7 separate regions of the Homo sapiens genome follow, and all the other regions are linked to region 6. The links are contacts of gene promoters, found by promoter capture Hi-C in blood cells and fetal thymus (Javierre and others, 2016). All regions are on one chromosome and are shown on one strand. The core of a region is centred on a gene start or on the middle of the fragment in contact, and the rest is flanking DNA. Distances in the headings are between cores, read along the strand shown. Region 1 overlaps DNAJC13 (DnaJ heat shock protein family (Hsp40) member C13). Region 2 overlaps DNAJC13 (DnaJ heat shock protein family (Hsp40) member C13). Region 3 holds the start of ACKR4 (atypical chemokine receptor 4). Region 4 overlaps DNAJC13 (DnaJ heat shock protein family (Hsp40) member C13). Region 5 overlaps DNAJC13 (DnaJ heat shock protein family (Hsp40) member C13). Region 6 holds the start of TOPBP1 (DNA topoisomerase II binding protein 1). Region 7 overlaps DNAJC13 (DnaJ heat shock protein family (Hsp40) member C13).

Region 1 (3,220 bases), core at 622-3,121, 1.2 Mb before region 6:
TGAAATACTCTTTCTTCACCTAGGGTCTCTTCTCAGAAAACAAAGAAAAACTGATCAATAATGCCATAACAGCATTACTGTCCCAAGAAGGGGATGTCGTTGCTTCAAATGCGGAACTTGAGAGTCAGTTCCAGGCTGTGAGGAGGCTTGTGGCATCCAAAGCTGGTTTCCTGGCTTTCACTCAGCTTCCAAAGTAAGTTGTCTTCTGAAACTTAACTTCTCTTAGAGAATTTGAACTACTCAAAATGGCAAATAATGAACGATTCACCTCCTTTTCCTTGACTAAACCAGATACCTTTTATAGGGTGATATGGTACTTTATTCATGAGAAATGAAAAAGGAAGGTGAGGGCAGCAGAAGCGGAATATTGGTCCCATACTCACCAGTAATATAACTGACTCTTGAATTTGAATGGGAAATTACATGCCTTTTAGTTTTAGTTAACCCTAAAAAATATTTTCCCTCTCAAAGAAAAAACTATTATGAAGACTGATAAATTTCAGAGGTGGAATTTAAAATACGTCATTGTTCCAGTAGTGCAATGGAAAGTTAATATGATCTATTTCAATAATATAACAATTTAAAATGTTCTGGTATTGCTAGTATATGCTTGTTTTTTGTTCCAAAAGGTTTCGCGAGCGTCTAGGGGTGAAGGTAGTAAAAGCACTCAAAAGAAGCAACAACGGAATAATCCATGCAGCAGTTGATATGCTTTGTGCCCTTATGTGTGTAAGTAGTAGTTTTCTTAAGGAAACTGGTTTTTCTTAAGTTGACTGGTGGTTTTGATTTCCACAGTCCCAGATTTTCATTGTACCAATAAGTTCTTGTTTCTGTTTCATAAATTGTTCTCATAGTTACTCAAACCTTTGTTTAGCATATCCTAAATACCAGGCAATGTGCTGTGTGCCAGAAATTCAAAGATCTTAAGACAGAAGTTCTTTTCTTCCTCACTTTGTTGACAGTCTGGTAAGGTAGGCATATCTGTACAAGGTAAGGTAGTAGGGGCCATAGGATCTTGAAAAGCAGCACTTTATTTTTGTTTGGTGATGAGGGGAAGATGAAAGATTCTCACCCAGTCTTTCTGGAAGATGTTACATTTGATCTGAATCTTGAAGGACAGGCAGGAATTTTCTAGCTCTGGAAAGGCCTTCCTGGGTGGGGAATAGCATATAAAAAGGCATGTTTGGAAAGCAACAAATAATTAAATATGGTTGGGTTATAAGGTATGGATGGGGGGTAATTAGGAGTTGCAGCTAGAGATGTATGCAGACAGTAATAAAAAACCTTCTGTATCAGGAGGGAGGAGCTAGATTTTTATCTTTTTGTAAGGAACACCTGAAGGATTTTTTTTAGCAAGAGAGCAGTAATGTGATCAGGTTTGAGTTTTTAAAAACCCACACTGGTAGTATGTGGAGAATAGAAGTAAAATTAGAGGCAGGTAGACCAAATTGTCACGTAAGAAATGAGTTGCTGAGCTAGGGTAGTCACAGGGCTAAAGAAGCAGCACACCTGAAAGCTGTTTGCGCAGTAAAGATCTAACTTAGTGGCAGCTTGTACAGAGGGAGAAACAATTGTTTAGTACAGTTTTGAAGTTTCTGATTATCTCAGTTTTGTGTGTAGTACCTGGGACTTTTCCTTATATAAAGTGTTTTAGGCAAGCTTAGTCGTACATAAACATAAGTAAATACTTCTGTAAAACCTTGCATTCCCAAAAGCAAATTAATTTTATTTACTGTTCCAAACAAGTAGTGAGATAACTAGAACTTAACAATGATATGGAGAGTTGCTTTATTCGAACAAAAGATGTTCCTATTACCCAGGAAATTCTAATGGTAGAGAGCTTTGTGTCAGGCTCCCCTATCAGGAAATTGCAAAGTTCTTAGGAGCTCTGTGTCAGGAACCAGGGTAAAAGACTGTTGCAACAAAAGATTCTGCTAGTGCCCCTGTCTGCAAGGGTTTTAGGTGCTCTATGTCAGGAGCCAAGGATGGAGACCAATGTATATATTTTTTAATATTTCATGTATTCTCCCTGCTCAGAATTCTTTCCCTGCTTATTCATTAAGAGCTCAAGTCAGCTTTTAAATGAAGCTTACCAAATATACACACCTACTATGTACCCACAACAATTAAAATAAAATTTTAAAAATAAATGGAGCTTTCTTATTCCTGAAGGTGGTAGTGATGTATCCCTCCCTGAAGTGAGATTACCCTTCATAAATATTACACTTGTCTTTCTTAGCAATTTCTTCTTTGAATTATTGCTATTTCTAAACATGATGTATTTTTCTCAATCTGTCAGCTTCCTGAGGATAATATTCATGTTTAATTTTAATTTTTATCCTTAACAGGCCTTGTCAAGCTGTTTAATAAATAATGATTAATTTTTTTCTGTGTTTCAGGTACTATTCTATGAATTTTTCATATATTATTCAGTCTTCCAATGAACTTTAGAAGTTATTACTGTTATATCTATTTTGTAGAGAAGGACTTAAGGCCCAAGTAACTTGTTCAAGGTCATGTAGCTAGTAAATGGCAGAGGAGGCTTCAAGCCCACTTTCTGGCTCCAAAGTTTATACAATTAACCATAGTAACATACAGTATTTGCTAAATGAGCAGAAACAAAAAGGAAGGAAATTCTGACACGTTTTGCAACATGGATGAACCTTGAGAACATGATGCTAGTGAAAGAAGTCAGTCACAAAAGGATAAATATTGTATGATTTTAATTATATGAGGTCAAATTCACAGAAAGTAGAATGGTGGTTGCCAGGGGCTTGGGAGGAAGGCAGAATGGGGAATTATTGTTTAATGATTACAGAGTTTCAGTTTGGGAAAATGAAAAAAGTTCTAGCGATGGGTGGTGGTGATGGTTGCCCAACAATGTGAATGCTTAATGCCACTGAACAGTGTAATTTAAAATGGTTAAGATGGTAACTTTTGTTATATGTAGTTTACCACAATAAAAAAAAGTAAGAAACAATGCTATGAAACAAACATTGAGCCCTCATTACATATTAGGTGTTGGCTTTGTATCTTACATGAATTATCTCATCTAAGCATCATAGTAATGTTACATAAATACTATTACTCCTACTTTACAGCTGAGGAAAATGAAACTTAGAGACTTATGTAAAGTAACTTACCTTGCGTAACGTCTCCCAGTTATTGTCAGTAGTAAAATTAGGATTGGAGCTCTACTCCTAACCATCACGCTGGAATG
Region 2 (3,347 bases), core at 701-3,200, 1.2 Mb before region 6:
TCCGATGGAGATGTACAAGGAGATTAATGTTTTCATGCCTGCTAATACAGCATCCATTTTGCAGCCCATGGATCAAGGAGTAATTTCAACTTTTACATCTTGTTATTTAAAACATACATTTCAAACAGCTGTAGCTGCCATAGATAGTGATTCCTCTAATGGATGTGGGCAAAGCAAATTGAAAACCTTCTGGAAAGGATTCACCTTTCTAGATGCGTAAGAGCATTTGTGATTCATGGGAGGAGGTAAAAATATCAGTATTAACAGGAGCTTGGAAGAAATTGTTTCCAGCTCTCATGGATGACTTTGAGAAGTTCAAGATTCCAGTGGAGGAAGTCACTGCAGATGAGCTGGAACTAGCAAGAGAGCTAGAATTAGAAGTAGATCCTGAATATGTGACTCAATTGCTGCAATCTCATTATAAAACTTGAAGAGAAAAAGGGGTTGCTTCTTGTGGATAAGCAAAGAAAGTGGTTCTTGAGATGAAATCTTGTGAAGATGCTGTGAACATTGTTAAAATGACAAAAGATTTAGTATATTACATAAACTGAGTTGATAAAGCAGCAGCAGGGTTTGGGAAGATTGACTTCAATTTTGAAAGAAATTCTCCTGTGGATAAAATGTTGTCAAACAGATCACATGCTACAAAGAAATCTTTCATGAAAGGAAGAGTCAGCTGATAGAGCAGACTTCTTTGTTTTACTTTGGGAAGCCACCCCAACCTTCAGCAACCACCACCCTGATTAGTCAGCAGCTGTCAACATCAAGGTGACATTCCCACCAGCAAAAAGATTGACTTGCTGAAGGCTCAGATGATTGTTAGCATTTTTCAGTTAAGGTATGCACGTAGTTTTTTTTAGACATGATACTATTGTACACTTAATAGACCACAGTATAATGTAAAAATAACTTTTATATGCACTGGGAAACCAAAAAATTAGCTTTATTTTGGTGATCCAGAACTGAACCCACACTATCTCTGAGGTGTGCCTTTACACCGAAATAATACCAAATGCTTGTGATGGGGTGACCACTGACAGCTTGTGAGCCTCTTTATCTTGATTGTTGAAGAATTGAATTTTGTGAAGTTTATTCATAAGAAGTTGTTCCTTGCCCAGCTTTTTCTTATATTTTGTGCCTACTGCTATCCCACTGGGCCATGTTTATATGCCTTTAACTCACTAGTCCTTCATGGACGTACAAGGCCAGTTACATGCTCATTTCATCACAAGGGATATCAGACCACCAGACACAAGGCTTCCTCTGGCCAATATTAGGAGAAAATATAGGTTGAAAATAAAGATTTTTTTAGAAGATGACTGGAGTCACATCAGATCATCTTTTGTGATGATTCCTCATCACTTCCAGAAGCAGCTGAGGAGCTTCTTCTGAGTGCTTGGGGATCATATAGGGAGTTTTTGCTTTCATTTTTTGTTTTTTCTATTTAAAGACGGGTCTCACTGTCTTGCCCAGGCTGGTCTCAAACTCCTGGCCTCAAGCAGTCCTCCTGTCTCAGCCTCCCAAGTAACTGGGATTACAGGTTCAAGCCACTGCCCCTGGCTTGTAGGAGGTGGCAAAGAGGATTTGGTGGTTGATTTGTTTGTAAAAAGGAAAGAAGTGAGGCTTTGTTTTAGAGTTTACTCTTAGAGGAAAAATGTACTATGCCATAATGTATATCACGTATCACAGAGTAATATATATGTAAATAGCTATTAAGCAGAATGAGTTAAGTGACTTGTGACGTCCCTTTGAAAATTGTCCTTTGAATTTCTAAATTTTATATAACTTAATTATAAAAATATAACCAAATTTTAGAAGTTCTGTATCATACTATCTGTTACTTCGATTGATAAAGGGAGGAGGTATTCTAATCTCAGAATTGTTACACTAAGATACTAATGGGAGTATATCAGATCTCTGGAAGTTGAGAAATACTTTATAATGTTTCCTGCCCTCTACATCCCCCCTATAGTGCATAGGTGTATTCATGTGTATGTATAATTTAATCATGTTTTATTCACTTTCATAGCTTAAAGTTCTTTCTTTTGCTATGGAGTTATTTCTTAGGGCACCCATGTTGTTTAAATACTTGTCTGCATTGATTAGGTTCCAAAAGCATTTGCTGCAAGTCTCTTGGATTATATAGGCTCGCAGGCCCAATACTTGCACACATTCATGGCCATCACACACGCGGCAAAAGTGGAGTCAGAGCAACATGGAGATCGCTTACCGAGAGTAGAAATGGCTTTGGAGGCTCTGAGAAATGTCATAAAATACAATCCAGGTATGTGACTACACCTTTGATCAATAAGACTCGTATAATACAGGAGCCCTAAAAATTCCAATAATCAATTTTATCAGGGAAACTCAGGGAAAATTATACTTGGTTATAATGTATTAATATAACATTACAGGGAATTGACCCTGTAATAGTTTTACAATAAAAGTTAAGCTGGGGAGAGAGGTCAAGGCACTATGTTTAGAAAAATTCATGTCTTTATGAGAACATGTGTCTAAATGAGTTGAAAAGGCAGAATAGTTTGATAGTATAAAATTTCACATTGATGTCTTAAGTTAACATATCAAGTATAAGTGCTTGAATTAGATTTATTTAATAATAAGTGATCTAATTTTTGCCTCCTTTCTGGTCCCTAACCAGTGCCATGTGCATATGGGCACTGATGTTTTTCAAAAATTGCCTGAAGTTTTTGGTGTATAAAAATTGAAATAAAGATATGAGAGTTCCTACTCTTAATCATCTTTAAGAGGACATTTCCAAAAACATTACTCTAGCCTGACTCCAGGGAGATGGATGAGTGAAAATGTAACAGCTTCTCTCAACTCTAACTTAGATAATAAATATAGAACATAAACCTAAAATGATACAAATTCAATTTAAATTACTCGATCTTTTAAAATAACATTGAACATTACCTTTCAAGTACATTTTTACTCTTCTTAGTATGTATTAAAGTACTGTTAAAATTCTGACTTTTGGGTTATTGCCAAAAAGTTATTTAAATAAAATAACAGTAATTAAATATTGGGAAAATTACGCATTTACAAGATGTACATTGGGATGTTATTAAAGACAGTGTTATAAAATCTGAAGAAAACTTGTCTTTTATTTGGAGTTGTCAAAGTGTCGAATATTACTAGTGGTATGTTAGGTACAAAGAAATTGTAGCAGAGCAGACTATTGATTTGGAACTTGTAAAGAGTTGAAGAAAGGCCTGTGCAGAAATCCTTCTGATAATATCCATCAAGTTTATTAGAATTAACTCTCTCGTAATTTAGAAGTATGGTTTGTGTGTCATTGATGTATTTGACAGTTATTCCCTATCAAT
Region 3 (3,672 bases), core at 713-3,212, 1.1 Mb before region 6:
TGGCAGAACAAGTAGGCAAAGGGGTGAGTAGTGTGAAATGAGGTCAGAGAGACAATGAGGGATGGAGGCAGACCTTGTGGGATCTTGTAGACTACTATGAGAGTTCATGATGAAGCAATTGCAATAGAAGCAAAAATTGACAAATGGGACCTAATTAAACTGAAGAGCTTCTGCACAGCAAAAGAAACTATCAACAGAGTAAAGAGACAACTTACAGAATGGGAGAAAATCTTTGCAAACTATGCATCTGACAAAGGTCTAATATCCAGCATCTATAAGAAATTTAAATTTACAATTAAAAACAACCCTATTAAAAAGTGGGCAAAGGATGTGAACAGACAGTTCTCAAAAGAAGACATACATACCGCCAACAATCATATGAAAAAAAGCTAAACATCACTGATCATTAGAGAAATGCAAATCAAAATCACAATGAGATACCATCTCACACCAGTCAAAATGGCTATTATTAAAAACTCAAAAAATTACAGCTGCTGGTGAGGTTGTGAAGAAAAAGGAGCACTTACAAACTGTTGGTGGGAGTGTAGAAAACAGTGTGGCAATTCCTCAAAGACCTAAAGACAGAAATATCATTCGAGCCAACAATTCCATTACTGGGTATATACCCAAAGGAATATAAATTATTCTATTATAAAGACACATGCATGCATATGTCCATTGCAGCACTATGCACAATAGCAAAGACATGGAATCAACCTAAATATTTGCCCATCAATGATAGACTGGACAAAGAAAATGTGGTACATATACAGCATGGAATACTATGTAGCCATAAAAAAGAATGAGATCATGTTCTTTGCAGGCACGTGGATGGAGCTGGAGACCATTATCCTTAGCAAACTAACAAAGGGACAGAAAGCTAAATACTGCATGTTCTCACTTATAAGTGGGAGCTAAGATGAGAACACATGGACACATGGAGGGAAACACACTGGGGCCTATCAAAGGGTAGAGGGTGGTAGAGAAAGAGGATCAGGAAAAATAACTAATGGGTACTAGGCTCAATACCTGGGTGATAAAATAATCTGCACAACAAACCCCCATGATACATGTTTACCTGTGTAACAAACTTGCATGTGTACCCCTGAACTTAAAAGTTTTTTTTTAAAAAAGAGAAAAATAGAAAAAATGGCATGGGTCTGAAATAATTTCTGCAGGTGGAGACTGAGCCTGGCCTTGCATGAAAAAATAGATAACTGCCATGCAAATTTGAGGAAAGCCAAGTTCAAATAGACCATGAGGGCCAAATCAGCATAAATTTCTCTTCTTTCTCTAACTTACTTGTGTGGAAATGTGGAAAAAATAAACAGCCTCCCAGACTGAAGGATTTTGAAGGTTCATATTCTAGCTTTGGGAAAAAAGGTAACAAGAAAGCAAGAGAGTTTAAAGCCATGGGAAAATACTCTGGGACAAGGATAGAGAAAGTACAGTGAAGCCAGGAAGACTCTAGTAGTTTAAATAAATATTAAATGATGTGGCATAAAAATGTTAAATTCTATTGCAAATACCTAATGATTACTTATAATTTAATCTTTGATAATTTAGTCTTCAAAAAGATATTTTCCTTGGTTAAAATCATATTTGCTTTCTTCCTTAGGCAAAATAACTTTAGAGAGTATTTCTCTAGATGCTACCTACAAGTGCTGCCTAGATGCCCTCAGGTGGATTCTCCTTCTGGTTCAGCAGTCAGTAGCTCAGCTGCAGGCACTTTCTTGTCCCCTTTGACTAAGTGGAAACTATGAAAGGTCTATAGTTTTTGAAAAAAGATGGATTTTCTCAAATTTGTAACCTAAACCACTTAAGAAGTTGAATTTAACTTCACAGATGGTTTTACAGGAAATAAAATATCAAGTGCTCACAAGGTTAAATTTCAGGAAAGCCTTCTTGGATACAAGATAAAGGCGGGGTGTAAAGTGAAAACAAAAGTAGCTGGAGTTAGGTCATTTGATTTTATACTCTGTACTCAAGACTGCTCCTCTCTGCCGACTACAACAGGTTGGTACTTTATTTCTTTTCTTATTCTGACTTGAATATTTTTTTAAGCCCAAAGATCTTGTATATTTACTTATATAGATGGAGTCTTGATGCATAAAAGTTTAAATGCTTACTTGTAAAAAAAAAAAAAAGGGTTACTTGAAAATAGCTGTACAGTTTAACCTTAAATGAAAATCTTAATATAGCAAGAAGAAAATACGATTTTAAATGCCATTACTTGTCGGTAAAACTTTGTTAAGGAGAAAATAGGTTTTATTATACCACTTTTTTTCACTTTCTTTTACAAGTACTGATTTTTTTTTTATTCTCATGGTAATTATAAAGACACTTAAAAGCGTGTCTATATATCTGCCGGAAGGATCATTTCTGCAAATAATTCCATTTCTACTCTTTTTTACTCACATTTTTAGTAAGATTAATTCTTACTTAAAAATTCCCTTCCTTAATATATTATAATATTTGGCCATATTATTTCTTATCATCAGGTTCAAGATTTTCTGATGAAAGAGAAAGGAAGAACAAGGTTCATACTGTGTTAATAATTAATGCATAAGAACATGAAGACCAGAGTAGTCTTCCAGATTGGAACTTTTTAAGTAACTTTAATGATAAAAAGAGTCATTTAAAAAAGTTGGCACCCGGTTTTTACATAATGAAAGCAATTCTTCTATGTGGTGTCTTTCTTCAGAGCCTTCTTTTCTTTGCTATATTCATTCAAAAAAAGTTAGCAAACATAAGAACATTTCTTTTGAAAATGTACTATAAGTTGGCACACTGTTTTAAAAATAATATTTTCATTATTGATTCTATAAGAATATTTGAGATACTTCAGAGGACAAAAAGAACCCAAGGAAAATAGAAAGGATAAGAAAAAGGAAAACAAAATTCAGCACTATAATAAAAACACTGAAAGTCATTATTTTATACATTCCAAAACTTACGAATTCTGTGCAAGCTTATCTTAATACTACGGGGTGCTAGTAGCCAACATAGTGCAATAACAATGTTGACATAGAAGATTTCTGGCATACTATCTATCCATTCTAGAGTAACAGCTTTATACCTGTTGGCAAAAGCTTTAATTTGACAAATATTTACTGAGAAGCTACTTTGTGCCAGGCACATTAACAAGATTTTATTTACAAACACAAATCAAATAGGTCATGCTTTGAGGAACTTAAAACCTAGAGGAACAAGGTAGTATGGGAAACGCATCCTTTCCACAGAATGGATCAGTTCTCTGAGGGGTATGTAGAGATTGCTAATACATCAGGAAAGTCTTCTGGGGAGGTCGCATCCGCGTTTATTGAGTAGGAATTGGCCCTTCCAGGGAAGGGCAGGAAATTGTATGGTAGATAAAGGAACAGAATGAGCAATGATGTAGACAGATGCTGCTGCATGGTGGGTGCCAGCCCACTGCTGAGAAATTAGTCCTATCACTGTCTCTAGTGTGGACACAGAGTAGGGAGAGGTGGCAGGAGCCATGGATGGCACCACATTATGAAGGGAGCCTTGGGTGTTATGCTAAGGAGCTTGGATTGTGGCTTTCAGGTGAAGAGATGTGTCTTCCAGATGAGGAACAAAACAGAGGAGAGGTAGATTGGCAATTTAGAGATCAAATACTCTGGTGGAAGTAAGAAAAACGTTTTTGAAAAG
Region 4 (3,644 bases), core at 851-3,350, 1.1 Mb before region 6:
CATGCAGTGAGCCAAGATTGCGCCACTGCACTCCAGCCTGGGCGACAGAGCAAGACTCTGCCTCAAAAAAAAAAAAAAGATATTCTCCTAAGTTTCCAGTGATTTGTTTATGGTTTTGCTAAATATTTAGGGTGTGTCGTTTTATGGGGGTGGAATACATAGGTATCATGAATGAAAGGATGTTTTACTGCTTTGGTTTCAAAAGATACTATGTTTAAAACTCAGAACATTTGACACACTAATTGCATAATTTTAGAATAGTCATTTTCATATAGGCTTCAACATAAGTCAGACTCTTGCTGAATGCTAAAGAGGCAATATCTAGTCTGCTATAAAAGTTCTTAATTTGAAATTAACCTTAGGAATATGAGGCGGTTCTTGCTGTCTGCCTGAAATTGTAGTATATAAAAAGATGTCAGCCCTGCATTCTCTCCTAACCAAAGATGATAAACTAAGAGAAAAAATTATCACCCAGGGTTTCTAAGCCATTGTAATTGTTTTAATCTTGATTGCTAGTATAGAAGTTTATAAGATCATGAAGACTTTATCTTGAATATTCAAAATTAGAGGCTTTGGAGGAAATTTTACCTGGTTTTAATTTTAAACTTGGTGTGACACTTTTTTTTCTTCACCATAACCACTTTAATATTGACACTCCTAAAGTTGGAGCAGAGTCCTAAAATTTATAAACATGCAGTGCTTTGGCTGCAGGTCATGTCCTGTTCAGAACAGTGTCATAGGTTTTTATTTTAACTTTTCCATCCCCTGTCCCTCATATCTATGGAGAAAAATACCTAGACTGTGTTCTCAGTCTGTCCCATATCTCTCTTCAGATTTGGTGTTAAAATTATAGCTTCTAAGTAGGAGTTTGTTCTTATAGGCAGTATAAAAACTTTACCTCTTTAGCCTATGTCCAAAAGTTCACATACCACGTTTTCATGGCATTACATTCATTACTTTTTGTATAAGGATGGTATGATTGAAAAAAAAATCTGCCTTATTTTTATTTTATTATTTATTTTTTTGAGACAGTCTTGCTCTCTCACCCAGGCTGGAGTGCAGTGGTGCGACCTCAGCTCACTGCAACCTCTGCTCCCTGGATTCAAGTGATTCTCCTGCCTCAGCTTCCCAAGTAGCTGGCATTATAGGCTTGCACCACCACACCCAGCTAATTTTTGTAATTATTATTATTATTATTATTATTTTAGTAGAGACGGAATTTTGCCATGTTAGCTATGCTGGTCTCAAACTCCTGACCTCAGGTGATCCACCCACCTCGGCCTCCCAAAGTGCTGGGATTACAGGCGTGAGACACCACACCTGGCTTTTTTTTTTTTTTTTGCGACGGAGTCTGGCTCTGTCACCCAGGCTGGAGTGCAATGGTGCAATCTTGGCTCACTGCAACCTCTGCCTCCCAGGTTCAAGCCATTCTCCTGCCTCAGCTTCCCAAGTACTTGGGATGATAGGCATGTACCACCATGCCCAGCTAATTTTTGTATTTTTAGTAGAGGCTGGTCTCAAACTCCTGACTTCAGGTGATCTGCCCACTTCGGCTTCCCAAAGCATTGGGATTACAGGCGTGAGCCAGCATGCCCGCCCTCTTTTTTTTTTTTTTTTTTTTGAGACAGAGTCTTGGTCTGTTGCCCAGGCTGGAGTACTACAGCATGAGCTCAGCTCACCGCAACCTTTGCCTCCCGGGTTCAAACGATTCTCCTGCCTTAGCCTCACAAGTAGCTGAGATTACAGGTGTGCACCACCATTCCCAGCTAATTTTTGTATTTTTAGTAGAGACGGGGTTTTGCTGTGTTGGCCAGGCTGGTCTCGGACTCCTGACCTCAAATGATCCACCCGCCTCAAATGATCCACCCGCCTGGTACTCCCAAAGTCCTGGGATTACAGGTGTGAGCCACTGCACCTGGTCAGCCTTATTTTTCTTAACTAAGAGTAAATTGGCCCTGAAGAATAGTAATGTGTATATTATAAGCTTCTCTACAGGAAAGCCTCTTCTAATTCTTCTGTTCAGTCTTATCTATCATTCTTTGACTTAACTTGATGAAATAAAAAACATATGTCCTTGACTTACAGAGTGTGAACCAAAAGGTCTGTGGTTAGAATCCAGAAGAAATAGGGGTTTATCTTCAGAAACCTGGACTTCATTTGGTCCTCACCCCCATCCACATGCTTTAGTAACTATAGGGAAAAGGTATAGGCAGTAAAAAGCTTCTTGTCTGTGCCTTTCCTTTTACTTGGATCCATGCGGTGGCTTCTGAATGAGATATGAAAAGTGGCTGTGAAGGGGTTAGAAGAAGGTTAGGGAAAAAGAAAAGTTGGGGTATACAAATTTCTTCCCATCCCTGAGCCGGCTTAAGGGACAGCAAGTTCTGTACAGGTCTGGCCAAATGGGGAGATGGTATAAAACCCAACCAGGAAGGGGCATGGAGATAATGAGTCTTCCAGAAGGCCATTACTGAAGCCTGCAGACGTGTCCATGTAGAACAGTCTGGATAAGCTGTAAGCATTGTTGACCCCAGAATTGTGAAATTCTGAGCATGTTATCAATCTGGGATGCTCTTTTTTAGCGATGTCAGTTGCTGGAAATTTTTTCATCAGCTCTAGTCTGTCCTATTTGAAAGGACCAACTTGCCAGGTGCAATGGCTCATGTCTGTAATCCCAGCAATTTTGGAGGCCAAGGTGGGCGGACTGCTTGAGTCCAGGAGTTCCAGACCAGCGTGGGCAACACGGCAAGACCCCGTCTCTATAAAAAAATACAAAAATTTAGCCAGGCATGTTGGTGCATGCCTGTAGTCCCACCTACTCGGGAGGCTCTCTTGAGCCTAGGAGGTGGAGGTCACAGGTGAGCTGAGCTCTCACCACCACACTCCAGCCTGGGCAATAGAGCAAGACCTTGTCTCAAAAAAAATTAAGTTACATTAAAAATGAAAGAACTATTTCAAGAATTAAAGCTTCTAACTCTTGCTGTCTGCCTGAAATTGTAGTATATAAGATGTCAGCCCTACATCCTCTAACTACAGATGATGTAGGCAAATTAAGAGATAAATTAGGTAAATTTACTGCCAGTTGGATTGATGTGTGCTCATTGCTTGAGTTGCCAAATGTTTTTTGTGTTTGAGCTTTTCATTGATGTATTGTGTATCATGTGTTTGATAAAAGGGGCATGTAGTTCTAATAATGATAAAATCCCATGATGTGGAACTCCAGGAATTTATAGTGTTGTGTTGAATTGGAATTTCATTTAGTTAAAATGTGCCCCGTGCTACTCCCAAACTTCAGAAGATACAGATTGTACCCAGCCCCTCTGTAATCATTGAAATCAAGGTTGCTGTGACAACACACATCACCAACCCTTTCTTCTAACTGATATCTTTAGGTGAGTTTGGCAGGTTAGGTGGATTTTGTTTAGGACATGGGGAAAGACAAAGGAGTTAATTACTACTTCAAAGTAAGATAAAAATGACCAAAACTACGTTTTCTTCTCTCTGGCTGCTGAGTAAATGTCATTCAGTCACATGCCCAAGATTTGGGGTAAAAATTTTAAAGTCCTAGGTAGGATTACTCAATCTTGATAAATTTAAATGAGACTGCCTATTTCCATAGGTTCTCTAGCCTGGCATATTTTGTTTTA
Region 5 (3,518 bases), core at 329-2,828, 1.2 Mb before region 6:
TTTATCTGGTTATCTTATCTTTTTTTCATCTAAAATTTATATTTAAATAGAGATGGGGGTCTTGCCATGTTGCCCAGGCTGGTCTCAAACTTCTGGACTCAAGTGATCCTCCCACAGTAGCCTCCCAAAGTGCTAGGATTACAGGCATGAGACATGGTGCCTAGCCAATCTGGTTATTTTAAAAGCTCGATGTTGGTTAGAGTAATTGAACTCTCTTTAAAGAGTATCCTGAGATCATATATTGGTAACAAATTTTTGTCATTGTATGTTTGTTTTGAACACTTTGTCAAGAAATGTCCTACCTCCCCCCAGACGGAGTCCTGCTCTGTCAGCCCGGATGGAGCGCAGTGGTGCCATCTCGGCTCACTGCAACCTCTGCCTCCTGGATTCAAACAATTCTCCTGCCTCAGCCTCCCAAGTAGCTGGGATTACAGGCATTCTCCACCACGCCTGGCTAATTTTTGTATTTTTAGTAGAGACGGGGTTTCACCATGTTAGCCAGGCTGGTCTCAAACTCCTGACTTTGTAATTTGTCCACCTCGGCCTCCCAAAGTGCCAGGATTACAGGCGTGAGCTACGGCGCCCAGCCAAAAAATGTTTTTTAAGCTTATATAAAGAAGGAAATATTTTGAAAGTTTATTTATAGATGATAGAATATTTCAGCTTTGGAGACTTATTTTTATTTCTTTTGTCCTATGTTGAATATGGTAATTTGTTTTACTGCTTAAAATTGTAGATTTCAAAGTTATTTCTAACAAGTATCATCTGTCCAGATGAAGATAATAACCGAAACTAGTTCTGAATTATTCCAGGAATTTGCAGTCAAATGATACATCTGTAATTACATGGTCAGGGTGAAGTTTTTTTTTTTCCTTAAAGTTGAGGGAAGGTATTAAAGTTTAGGTTAAGAACCTAGGGTGTAGAAGTTAAGGAGGTTAGTCCAAAGTCTGGCCCAATCGCTTACCAGCTGTGTTACCTTAGAAAAGTGATTTATCAGTTTTCTTGTCAATAAAATGAGAGTCATACCTGTACTGCAGTGTTGTTATGGGGACAAAATGAAATAAATGCATGGTAAATGCATAGGCTGAACACCAACATGTGATGAGTATTCAATATAAGTTGTTTAATAATTTCAGGACATGTCATAAATTTTCAGATTAGAGTCACCTTGCTTCCCTACCTTTATTAAAGGCAGTCTTCAATGGAGTTTTAAAATGGAAAAGCATTATCCTGATTTCCATTTTGAGGTTAGGCAGATGGTAATATAGCATTGAATTATTCCACTATTTCTGGGGTTGACTTGGCTAGTTAGTGGGGTGTCTCTTCCCTCCCTTACCTCTCAGATATACCCTTACATAAATATAATGTAGTTGAAGACAGGCTTTTCAAATAGAGGAGCAATTTTCTTCCATAAAAAGCCCATTTTACTAGCCTTTTATTGGATGCAGAGTAAAACATCACTTGTTGCTTTCTTAAATATTAGAGACAGAAAATTATCAGGTGTGCAAATATTGGACATAGGAACTTGTACTGATGATATGAACTTCTGGAGAACTGAAGTACTACTACTTTCCTCCTACACTAGTTTTCTGTCAGCATTCTCATCTGCATCAGGAATACAATATTTATTCTAATAGGCCAGGTCATTGGTAGTTTACTTTTATCTTAATGTGTTATATCTTCTCATACTCCTTTTATCTGTCCTAAGGACTCTCTGGAGTCTGGTGCTTTCATCATCTTCAGGTTTATAGACCTTCAAAAGCCTTCTTGATGTAAAGTTATTTAATTCATGTCCCAAAAGGTCTGTTGGAGTTCTATAACCCCAAATCAGTGGTACCTATGAGGTCATTCTTTAGGTGTTTATTTTTTAAATTATTTAAAAAATTTATTTAATAATTCTTATATTTCTTTTGTTATTATGAGATTATTTTGTTCTTATTCCCCCCTATGGGTTTATTAGGGATCTTTATTCCTTCTGGGTCATGCCCCGTGTTTTTTATGGTTGTCGTTTTAAAATCTTTATTTTTCTCTGCCTTTCATTTTAATTTTTAGATCCTTAATTTTATCAACCAGTCTCCACTCAACACATTTTCTTGTTTCTCAGTTTTCCCAAGATAGGCCCTTGGTACAGAGTCAGTTATTCCAATATCTTAAGTTTAGACTAGGAATACAAACCCCATTCTTCAGTATCAGCCATTCACCTTTTCTATCTGCCTTTCTCTTCCCATTGTTCCACTCTTCAGTTATATAGGGGAAAAATATCCGTACACCTATATATCTCTCTCTCTCCCTTTTTTGGTGAGTCTTCAGAGATACTGCCCAGGTTTCTTTTCAGCAATATCATTTACTGCAAAAGATTCAGAAGGCAGGGATAATTCTTACTGGGTTTAATAAATCTTAGTTGGGTGCTTTGGTCATCCCAGGTATGAAATCCAGAAACAGACAAACAAAACACCATACCAACTGTCAGGACTACATTTAGCTGTCCCTATACTCACTAGCAGGAAGATGTTAGTTGACTGTAAGAAATTTCTTCTTTCTGGTAACAATAAAAGCTTCTTTAAACTTGGTGTTACTTGTGGTTCCTTTTGTTATTTTTCAAAGCATGAATTGCTGATGCCTTTCCAGAAGGTTTGACAAAACCCTATTTGGGAGTCCCTGTTAGAGCATCAGGTTTGAAGTAGATATCAGAATTGCCCATGTATTTGCTGAATTTTATTCCTTAACTCAAATACTTATTTTTGAGCACCTGTTTTGTATCAGGCACTCTTGTGGCCTCTGTAGAAACAATAGTGAGCTGAACAGACAAAACTACCTCTCTCTGGATATTCCAGTAGAATTAGGTGAATAATAAATTGCACATTAGAATGTGGAAAGTGCTATGGGGGAAAAACAAGAGTAAGAGGGAATAGGGTAGAATGAGGAGGAGGGTGGTTACAATTTAAGTAGAATGAGGAGAGGGTGGTTACAATTTAAAACAAGATGTTTAGGGTCGGCATCATTGGAAAGGTGACATTTGAACACAGATTTGAAGGAGATAGAGGTATAAGCCATATAAATATCCAGGGGGTGAGCGTTCTATGTATAGTACAAAGGCTCTCGATAATTGGTAATAACACAAAAACAAGCAGGACGAATGAAGACAGCAATTTCAAAATAAGGGTATCTTTTAAAAAATGTTTTTACCACTCAGGTATATACCTAAGAGAAATGAGTATGTATGTTCACACAAAAACTCATATATGCTTGTTCATAGTTGTATTATTCATAATAGCCAAAAGGTAGAAACAACACCCGTGTCCATCAATTGACGAATGGATAAAATAGGTATATCCATATACCAGAATATTACTTGGCAGTATGGACCAGCATAAGCAAACCCACAGTGACAAAGTAGATTAGTGGCTGCTAGGTGCTGAGGCTGAGGTATAATGGGGGGTGACCGCTAACAGAGTTTCTTACTGGGGTGATGCAAGTGTTCCGAAAATAGTGGTGATGGTTGCAGAACTCTAAATACA
Region 6 (3,512 bases), core at 483-2,982:
AGCCTACCCTGATCACACCCTATTTAAGATTATAACCCCCTTCTCTTCCCACCCCAAGAAACATCCTCTGGAACCCCTTAACGTGTTTTGCTTTTTTCTCTTCCTAATTTATCATGTCTGATTAGTGTCTATGTCCTCCTGCTAGAATGTAAGCTCTGAAAGAACAGAAATCTTTGCCTGTTCTCATCACTGATAAATCCCAAGTACTAGAGAAGTGCCTATCAAATCATGAACACTTCAATAAATACTTGCTGAATGAATGAAGTTTAAAAAAATCTGCTACAAATGCTTCTCAAACTTTAATGCACACTGAAGATCTTGTTAGAAATGCAGATTCTAAGTCTGGGTTGGAGGCCAAGATTCTGCATTTCGAAGAAACTTCCAGGCCATGCTGATACTGCTGGGTTCTGTGAGAAGCAAGGATCTACATCACCCCTACTATCATCCAATTATTATACTGTACATAATAAAACATAATTTTTAACAATTAACCAAAAAATTTTCAAGTATGACCAGTACACAACTGACTCAAATTTCTACAGCACGCAAAGGACCACTCTGGCTAGGAGACAAATGAAAGCAACTTAATTTCCAAGAACTGTAGGTCAGCCATATTAAACAGCAATGTGATAATAGACTTCCAGCCCCCCGAAATACATAATGATGTACTTAGATCAATTCAAAAATATGTGATAATGATATATCTGTATTAATGTAGACTATAAAATTATTATGAAAGTGAAATATCTACTTCTAAGACATAAAGCCCAACAAATCAAAAACACTTAAAAACAAGAAAATGAATTCACGGTATTAAGATGTTTTCAACTCTTACCTCGAGAGCTTTAAAAAAACATTTGGAATTGTCTGAAGACTTTAAAAACTTCACAAAAAACGGTTCTTTGTCATTTCTGGACATTTCTGAACTGTCAAAATAAAGGAACCATTAACAAGAACAAAACCACATTAGATAAAAAGTTGCATGTTTAACCTACCTATTTTTCTGTGCAGACAAGAATGCCTAAAGACAGACATTCTGGCTCTGCCCGTGAATTCGTCAACGGCATTTCTAAGAAATCCTGGAACTTGGACAAAGCCAAGGTAAAAGATGACAACACCAATCCTTGCAAATCAGACAGCAAAATTAACCCGAATTGAATACACTGAGGAAGGCCCTGCTATGAAGGCTCTAAGCCCTTTAGGCCAATGGACATTCAATTGCACTTGTTTTAAGGATACACAGAGTGTATCTGTCCCTGCGGATACCCACGGCCTGCGAGGTACGTTCATCCCTCAGTAAACAGATTTTAAATATAAACATGGAAGCCAGTTAGCATGGTCTTGGCCCTGCATAAGGCTAGATGCTCCGGTTCCCATCTCCAGGAAAAGGCCTGGCTCTGGGATCACGGAAGCCACGTCCTCTCGGCGTCAAAGGCCCACCCGCCGGCTCCAGGGCCAGTTACCAGGACAGGAAAAGAGGGTCCTGAAGGCCACAGAAGGCATCGCGAACCCCAGTTGGGGCTGGGGAGGAGCTGTGTCCCCACTCCGCGCCTCACTTACCTCGTTGGAGCCTCGGGGTCTCCGGGCGGCGAGTCGGGGGACGCGCTGGCCGCAGGGCGGTGGCTGGGGTCGGGCGCCAGCCCGGCGCACAGCCCCCTCCCCCGACTCGGCGCCGCCCCTACCCCAAAGCAAACGCTGGAGAACCCGGAAATTGCCCAGAACGGGAACCGACTTTCGCGCCAACCGCGCGGCCGCGCTTGCCTTTTCCGGTGGAAGTGACGCCATCGGCAGCTGCAGCAGAAGAGCGGAAATGTCAAACGTGGAGGTGAGCAGTCTGTGGGCGGTGGGGCTTCAGGGAAAGCTTGGGCCGGACCCTTTGGGTTTAGGGCTTTGCTGGGCGGGCCTAGTCTCCGCTGCGAGTAGGCCCAGCGCCGTCGGTTCAAGAGGTAGGACCACAGGCCAGGAATACTCCTTTACTGTTAAAAAAGCCAGGGAAAGAAAGGATTTCCTCAATAGATATTTATTTTACACCTGTCTTATACCAGGCATGCACGGGAAAAGGTATTATCCAAAACAATTCCGTGAGGCAAATAGTGGTAGTTCCATTTTGTAGATGTAAAAACGGAGGAAGTTAAATGATGGGTTCAAGGGCACACGGCTAGTAGGTGGTAGAATTAATACTGCATCCAGGTCTTCTGACTACGGACTGGGTGGTTTCCCTCCAACACAGCAGGAATAGAATCACCGCCTAACACAGCCACAAGATGGCAAGGGAAGAAAGGATGACTTATTACACAGCTAATGCAAAGGGATCTTTGTCAAGATCTTCAATGGTCTCCCCTCCTCCTCCCCTTCAGTGGACATCGCCGTTCTCTTTCTCTGCATCTGCCTCAGTACTGGGGAGATTCTGGGACTGAACCTAAGATTCAGATGGCAGAGAGCAAAGGGAGAGGGGATAAGATGGGCCTGCAAACCTTAGTGATAACCAGCGGAAAACTGATTCGTTGTTGCTTCTTTTCATTTTATTCTTTTTTAAAAAAATTTTTTCTTATTTTATAAAATCTAGCCACTATACTAATGAGGATCATTTTATTATTCACTGCTGAGATTGAGAAAATGACTTTGGATTTACTAATGTAAAAGTATAATGCCATGTCCCTTGATTGTTTTTGTTTTTCTTTTCTTTTTAGAGCCTAAAGATAGTAATGAGCAGCTTGAGTCTTAAGTTTTTGAATACACCGATGGAAGGTGACAAAGATTCTTTGCTTGGCCAAACTTTAGTCAGACTCCTCAACCTTCTCGTAGGTTTATCTGTGCATTTCCTTGGAAAATCCAGTTAGAACCCTCTACCCTCAATATCTGATCAGGTTCCTCATCCTCTACCATCCAAGGTGATGTCTGATCACCTTGACCTATTTTCAGCAAGAAACCCCTTTACTCCTGAAGTTCCTTCTTAGTAATTTTTTATCCAGTGACCCCAAGCTTTTTGTTCCTTGGCTATAAATTCCCACTTGCCCATGGTGTATTTAGAGTTGAGCCCACTCTCTCTCTCCTAATTCAGAATCCCATTGCCATGGTTGCTATACCTATCCTGATGGTCCGGAATAAAATCTGTCTTACTGTGCTTTAATAAATATCATTAATTTTTTTTTTTTTTTTTTTTTACCAGAAATGAGTCAGAATCAATTAACACTGGGGCTCAAAGGTAAAGGCCTATTGCTGGGGGAAGGGTGAAGAAAGCCTTAAAAGCAAAAAAACAAAAATCACTAGAGGTGGGAAAAAAAAGAAACCACAGTTAATTGTTAAGGTGCAAATCTGACCTGAATCTGTAATAACAATTAATATTTCTAGGGCACTTTACAGTTAACATGGGACTCCTGCTCACACTATTCCCGTTTACTCTTTTCAGCAACCCTATAATAGATGGGTATCATTGTCTCATGTTATGGAGATGGGGAAAGTGAAGTTCAGGGACTGTGTCACTTGCCCGTGCCTTTCCTGACACACCACAC
Region 7 (3,450 bases), core at 290-2,789, 1.2 Mb before region 6:
AGTATTATTTGAATTTTATATGGACTGATTTAATTGAATTATTTGTGAGTACCTTATTGCTTTTATTAAAATTATAATTGTAAAGGCTATTTAAGTACATGTCTAAAGAGTTGGAAAGCAGAAGAATGGGGGAAAATTACTCAGAATTGTACCACTATTCCACATCTAGCATAAGAATGTATTATCTAGTATTTAAGTATGTATTTAATATAACTATATTCATATTGTACATGCAGTTTCACATTTTGCTTTCTTAAAGTTTAATAATTTTTTTATATTGTCACATAGCTTTAATATGACTACACTTTAAAAATCTTTCTAGTTCATTTAAGTTCTTGCCTTATTCAGAAATTAAATAATTTGGGAATATGGATTTATGTGAGTTGCCATTTGTGAGTTTTATTTAGCTATAAAAGATCTAGTCTTTAGAAAACTAAGGTTACAAAAACTAAATCGGTTTCTATATCTGATAGATAATTCATTTTTCTTTCTAGATTTTTGAAATACACACATACCAAACAGGCTTTCAAGTCAGAAGAGGTAAGCCAGGTTAATCCTCTGAATACTTAACCCTGGGTAAGCTGTTTTGGCACTATAAAGTTTCCTGAGCTGTGTATTATGTTTACTAGATTATAAGTACTTGAGGGTAGGTATTGTTTTATTCTGTTCTTACATTGTTTGTGGTACCTTGCACATATAAAGTCTAAGCTAATATTTTTAAAGGAAAATAAATGTTGCTGACTCATTAGACTTAATATTGAAATTGCAGCTATGAACTATAGCCTGACACCTCCATGAATATAAGTTGTTCTCTTTGTATAAAGTTTAGATTAGTGATTTTTGTAAATAATTCATTATGTACCTGAGTCTTACATCGTCAGCTAAGATTCAGGAAGACTTCAGCCTTTTTGTTCAGATCCCAAAGTGGCAGAAGTGCTAGGTTTCTTTTTTGAAGCTGCTCCATGTTTCATATGCTTTCATTTTACTGTGGGGTTAAGCTGGGAATTAAAAAAAAAAAAACTTATTTAGGTAGTTTTGACAATCTAAACTTAATGCCTACATTTTACAAAGAGATATTTATTGTTAAAATGAAACTGAAGGGTGTTTTGAAATATGTTCAGCTTTTCATGGAGCATGGATTTTTTTTTGGATCATATCAAGCAGAATAAGAAACCAAAACCAGACCACTGTTGAGAAGACTAACCAAGGAATGTTGCACCACCTTGACAATAGACACTAAATTATATGTTTTATAGAGCAGCCAATGAAGCCCTAGAAAGTAACCCATTTGTCTAATATTAAAGATGCCCATGGCAGCATAATTTCCACAGCTTTTTACAAATAGAAAATGAGAATATAAACAAGTTAAAAAAGTCTCTAATGATAGTACCTTCATGTAGTATTAGACATTTGGGCATTCTTTTTCTTCCTTTATTTCTGTGCCATTATGCATATTGTAATTTTTTCCAAATTTATTAGAAATGATTTGTATCATTTCAGCTAACAGTATTTTGAATAATTATAGCAAAACAGTGTTTATAGCACAAGTCTGGATGTATGAATTACCAAATAATAGTATTGAAGAATACAACTAGCAATTCTTTACCCAAAAGTTTAACAGATAGTGAATTTGTTACTCTTATTAGCAGAAAGCCTGAAAATATTCATCTTCTAATTTGTCTTTGCACCACATGATAAAACAATGTTTGGGTTTTTTCCCTCGTCTCTTTGTTTTATCCTAGAGAAGTAAAATGTCTTTAAATTTGCCTAGAAGGAAATAAGAAAAGCATTTATTTGTATAAATCCTAGCTAGCCCTTGGGATTTTATTTCCATTGAGTAAAGAAATGAGTTTAAAATTTAGTATGATCATTATCCTAACTCCATTTGGCCTGCCAGAGGATATGGACTTCGCAAAGCAGTTAATTATAATTACTTTAAGTAGAAATTCTCCATCTAAATCCTAGCTACATTTCATGAGGACAGGCTCTTAATGATCTTCTGAACTTATTTTTGAAAACAGAAGCAAGTACAGGTGGGACCTACAGCCAACAATATAATGCAGGATAATTGATGTAAATCTTCTTGGGATATTCCTTCTGTTATCCATTACTGTTACACATGGTCAAAGGCCAGTCGTCCTAAATAATATTGGCAGCTTGTGACACTTAAAGCTAAGACTGCTGCAGGGCCAGAGGCTGTTGGTTCTGCCTTAGAGCTCATGCCAAGCCAGTTTGTACCAGATACCTTCCAGTTCACATTTTGCTGTGTTTCCATCTACATTCCCAAAGCATAAAAGCAATTTGTTCCAATTGTGTTCTTTTCTTAAAGTGTTCTCTAACCATAAATCATTTATTAGAAAATTGAAAGTTAACTTTAGTGTTTTTGACTACCTTTTGTTTTGTTTTGTTTTGAAGACAAAAGGACAAGATATTTTTCAGAGAAGTATACTTGGGCACATTCTACCTGAAGCAATGGTTTGTTACTTAGAAAATTATGAACCTGAAAAGTTTTCTGAGATTTTTCTAGGAGAATTTGATACTCCAGAAGCAATCTGGAGCAGTGAAATGAGGTAAATAACCAGTTGACTGATTGATTTGTATTTTATAATTAAGTCTTTGCTGCTCGCCATCTGCTTTGACTTCTGTTAAAAGAAATGTTTTCACTAGGTTTATAATCTAAAATGACAGTAATCATTGATGCCAAATCAAATGATGGATTTTGATAAGGCCTTAAGGTTTTCTCTATTCTAATAAGATTTGACAAAATTGCTATTACCTTAATAGAGCTTTATATAATGGTAGGGCCTACCAACTGCTGGTACTTCTTAAATCAGTTTATAGAACTCGTAAGGTTTTAGGTAATGAACTGATAATATATATATAGGGAATTGGGGTAAAATCAAGACATACCTCTGGGTATCTGGAAGTAGGACTATACTCCCACTAATTAAAAGCTATGCCCACATAATTTGGATCGATGAATCAGAACAGAGATACCCGAAATTATTCTAGAATGTGGGCTCCCTTACCAACACCTTTTGTCCTTAATCTGGAGGTTAGCATTCCTAAGGTATGTCTTTGTTGGGGGGGAATGCCATAGGAGAAACCTGTGGAAACACAGAAAAAGGAAAGGCTCAGAAGCAGATAACAGTGCCCAGCCAGTTTCTGTTCAGAAAAGACTTGATACTTCATATTTCCAGTGTCAAGGCTATCTCTTTTTGGAGAACCCCTCAATTCCCTTAGCTAGATAGCATTAGATCTTCTATGTCAATTACTGACCCTCGTCAGACTGCACACACTCCATGCCACCTGCTTGTTATCATTTGACTTCTTGACCTATGGGCTTGGCATGTGTTAGCCAGCAATTTGAATATATTCTGTATGGCAGTCATATTTTTCATTGGGAAAAAATATATAAGAATATTAATAAATTAGCAACACAGTTCTTCT

Evidence for each region. Contacts are between HindIII fragments. The CHiCAGO score rates a contact against its expected background, and 5 or more counts as called.
Region 1: a contact is called between a fragment that was not itself captured here and the fragment with the promoter of TOPBP1 in region 6, in 4 of 17 cell types (monocytes, naive CD4 T cells, M1 macrophages and 1 more). The highest score is 7.6, in monocytes.
Region 2: a fragment that was not itself captured here is called in contact with the fragment with the promoter of TOPBP1 in region 6 in 4 of 17 cell types (M2 macrophages, monocytes, neutrophils and 1 more); the score reaches 9.5 in M2 macrophages.
Region 3: the fragment with the promoter of ACKR4 here is called in contact with the fragment with the promoter of TOPBP1 in region 6 in 7 of 17 cell types (M1 macrophages, M2 macrophages, M0 macrophages and 4 more); the score reaches 11.0 in M1 macrophages.
Region 4: a fragment that was not itself captured here is called in contact with the fragment with the promoter of TOPBP1 in region 6 in 4 of 17 cell types (fetal thymus, M2 macrophages, M1 macrophages and 1 more); the score reaches 8.6 in fetal thymus.
Region 5: a contact is called between a fragment that was not itself captured here and the fragment with the promoter of TOPBP1 in region 6, in 1 of 17 cell types (monocytes). The highest score is 6.1, in monocytes.
Region 7: a contact is called between a fragment that was not itself captured here and the fragment with the promoter of TOPBP1 in region 6, in 6 of 17 cell types (monocytes, M2 macrophages, neutrophils and 3 more). The highest score is 11.6, in monocytes.

Annotation. Positions count from the first base shown.
Region 1 is chr3:132,456,640-132,459,859 of GRCh38, forward strand. It overlaps DNAJC13 (DnaJ heat shock protein family (Hsp40) member C13), which reads left to right. Exons shown (of 56, transcript NM_015268.4): 12 at 24-193; 13 at 630-729. Among named protein-coding and RNA genes, the nearest start is that of DNAJC13, 41 kb to the left of the region's middle. The HindIII fragment of the contact is 429 bases long and covers 1,658-2,086 here.
Region 2 is chr3:132,508,961-132,512,307 of GRCh38, forward strand. It overlaps DNAJC13 (DnaJ heat shock protein family (Hsp40) member C13), which reads left to right. Exons shown (of 56, transcript NM_015268.4): 44 at 2,107-2,284. Among named protein-coding and RNA genes, the nearest start is that of ACKR4, 87 kb to the right of the region's middle. The HindIII fragment of the contact is 4,957 bases long and covers 1-3,347 here.
Region 3 is chr3:132,595,308-132,598,979 of GRCh38, forward strand. It overlaps ACKR4 (atypical chemokine receptor 4), which reads left to right and starts at 1,963. Exons shown (of 2, transcript NM_016557.4): 1 at 1,963-2,016. All of the region lies in intron 13 of ACAD11 (acyl-CoA dehydrogenase family member 11), which reads right to left. The region is part of intron 39 of NPHP3-ACAD11 (NPHP3-ACAD11 readthrough (NMD candidate)); the gene reads right to left. The HindIII fragment of the contact is 3,278 bases long and covers 1-2,969 here.
Region 4 is chr3:132,531,733-132,535,376 of GRCh38, forward strand. The region is part of intron 55 of DNAJC13 (DnaJ heat shock protein family (Hsp40) member C13); the gene reads left to right. Among named protein-coding and RNA genes, the nearest start is that of ACKR4, 64 kb to the right of the region's middle. The HindIII fragment of the contact is 236 bases long and covers 1,983-2,218 here.
Region 5 is chr3:132,428,444-132,431,961 of GRCh38, forward strand. The region is part of intron 1 of DNAJC13 (DnaJ heat shock protein family (Hsp40) member C13); the gene reads left to right. Among named protein-coding and RNA genes, the nearest start is that of DNAJC13, 13 kb to the left of the region's middle. The HindIII fragment of the contact is 1,949 bases long and covers 605-2,553 here.
Region 6 is chr3:133,660,209-133,663,720 of GRCh38, forward strand. TOPBP1 (DNA topoisomerase II binding protein 1) reads right to left here and starts at 1,733. Exons shown (of 28, transcript NM_007027.4): 1 at 1,561-1,733; 2 at 836-926. The coding sequence starts at 919. It overlaps LOC124909487, which reads left to right and starts at 1,018. Exons shown (of 3, transcript XM_047449438.1): 1 at 1,018-1,138; 2 at 1,305-1,825; 3 at 2,691-3,130. The coding sequence starts at 1,018. The coding sequence ends at 2,840. It also overlaps a transcript of TF not described here. RefSeq lists a silencer at 1,520-1,689 and an enhancer at 2,090-2,159. The HindIII fragment of the contact is 9,162 bases long and covers 1-1,859 here.
Region 7 is chr3:132,488,482-132,491,931 of GRCh38, forward strand. It overlaps DNAJC13 (DnaJ heat shock protein family (Hsp40) member C13), which reads left to right. Exons shown (of 56, transcript NM_015268.4): 31 at 495-540; 32 at 2,416-2,570. Among named protein-coding and RNA genes, the nearest start is that of DNAJC13, 73 kb to the left of the region's middle. The HindIII fragment of the contact is 4,727 bases long and covers 1-3,450 here.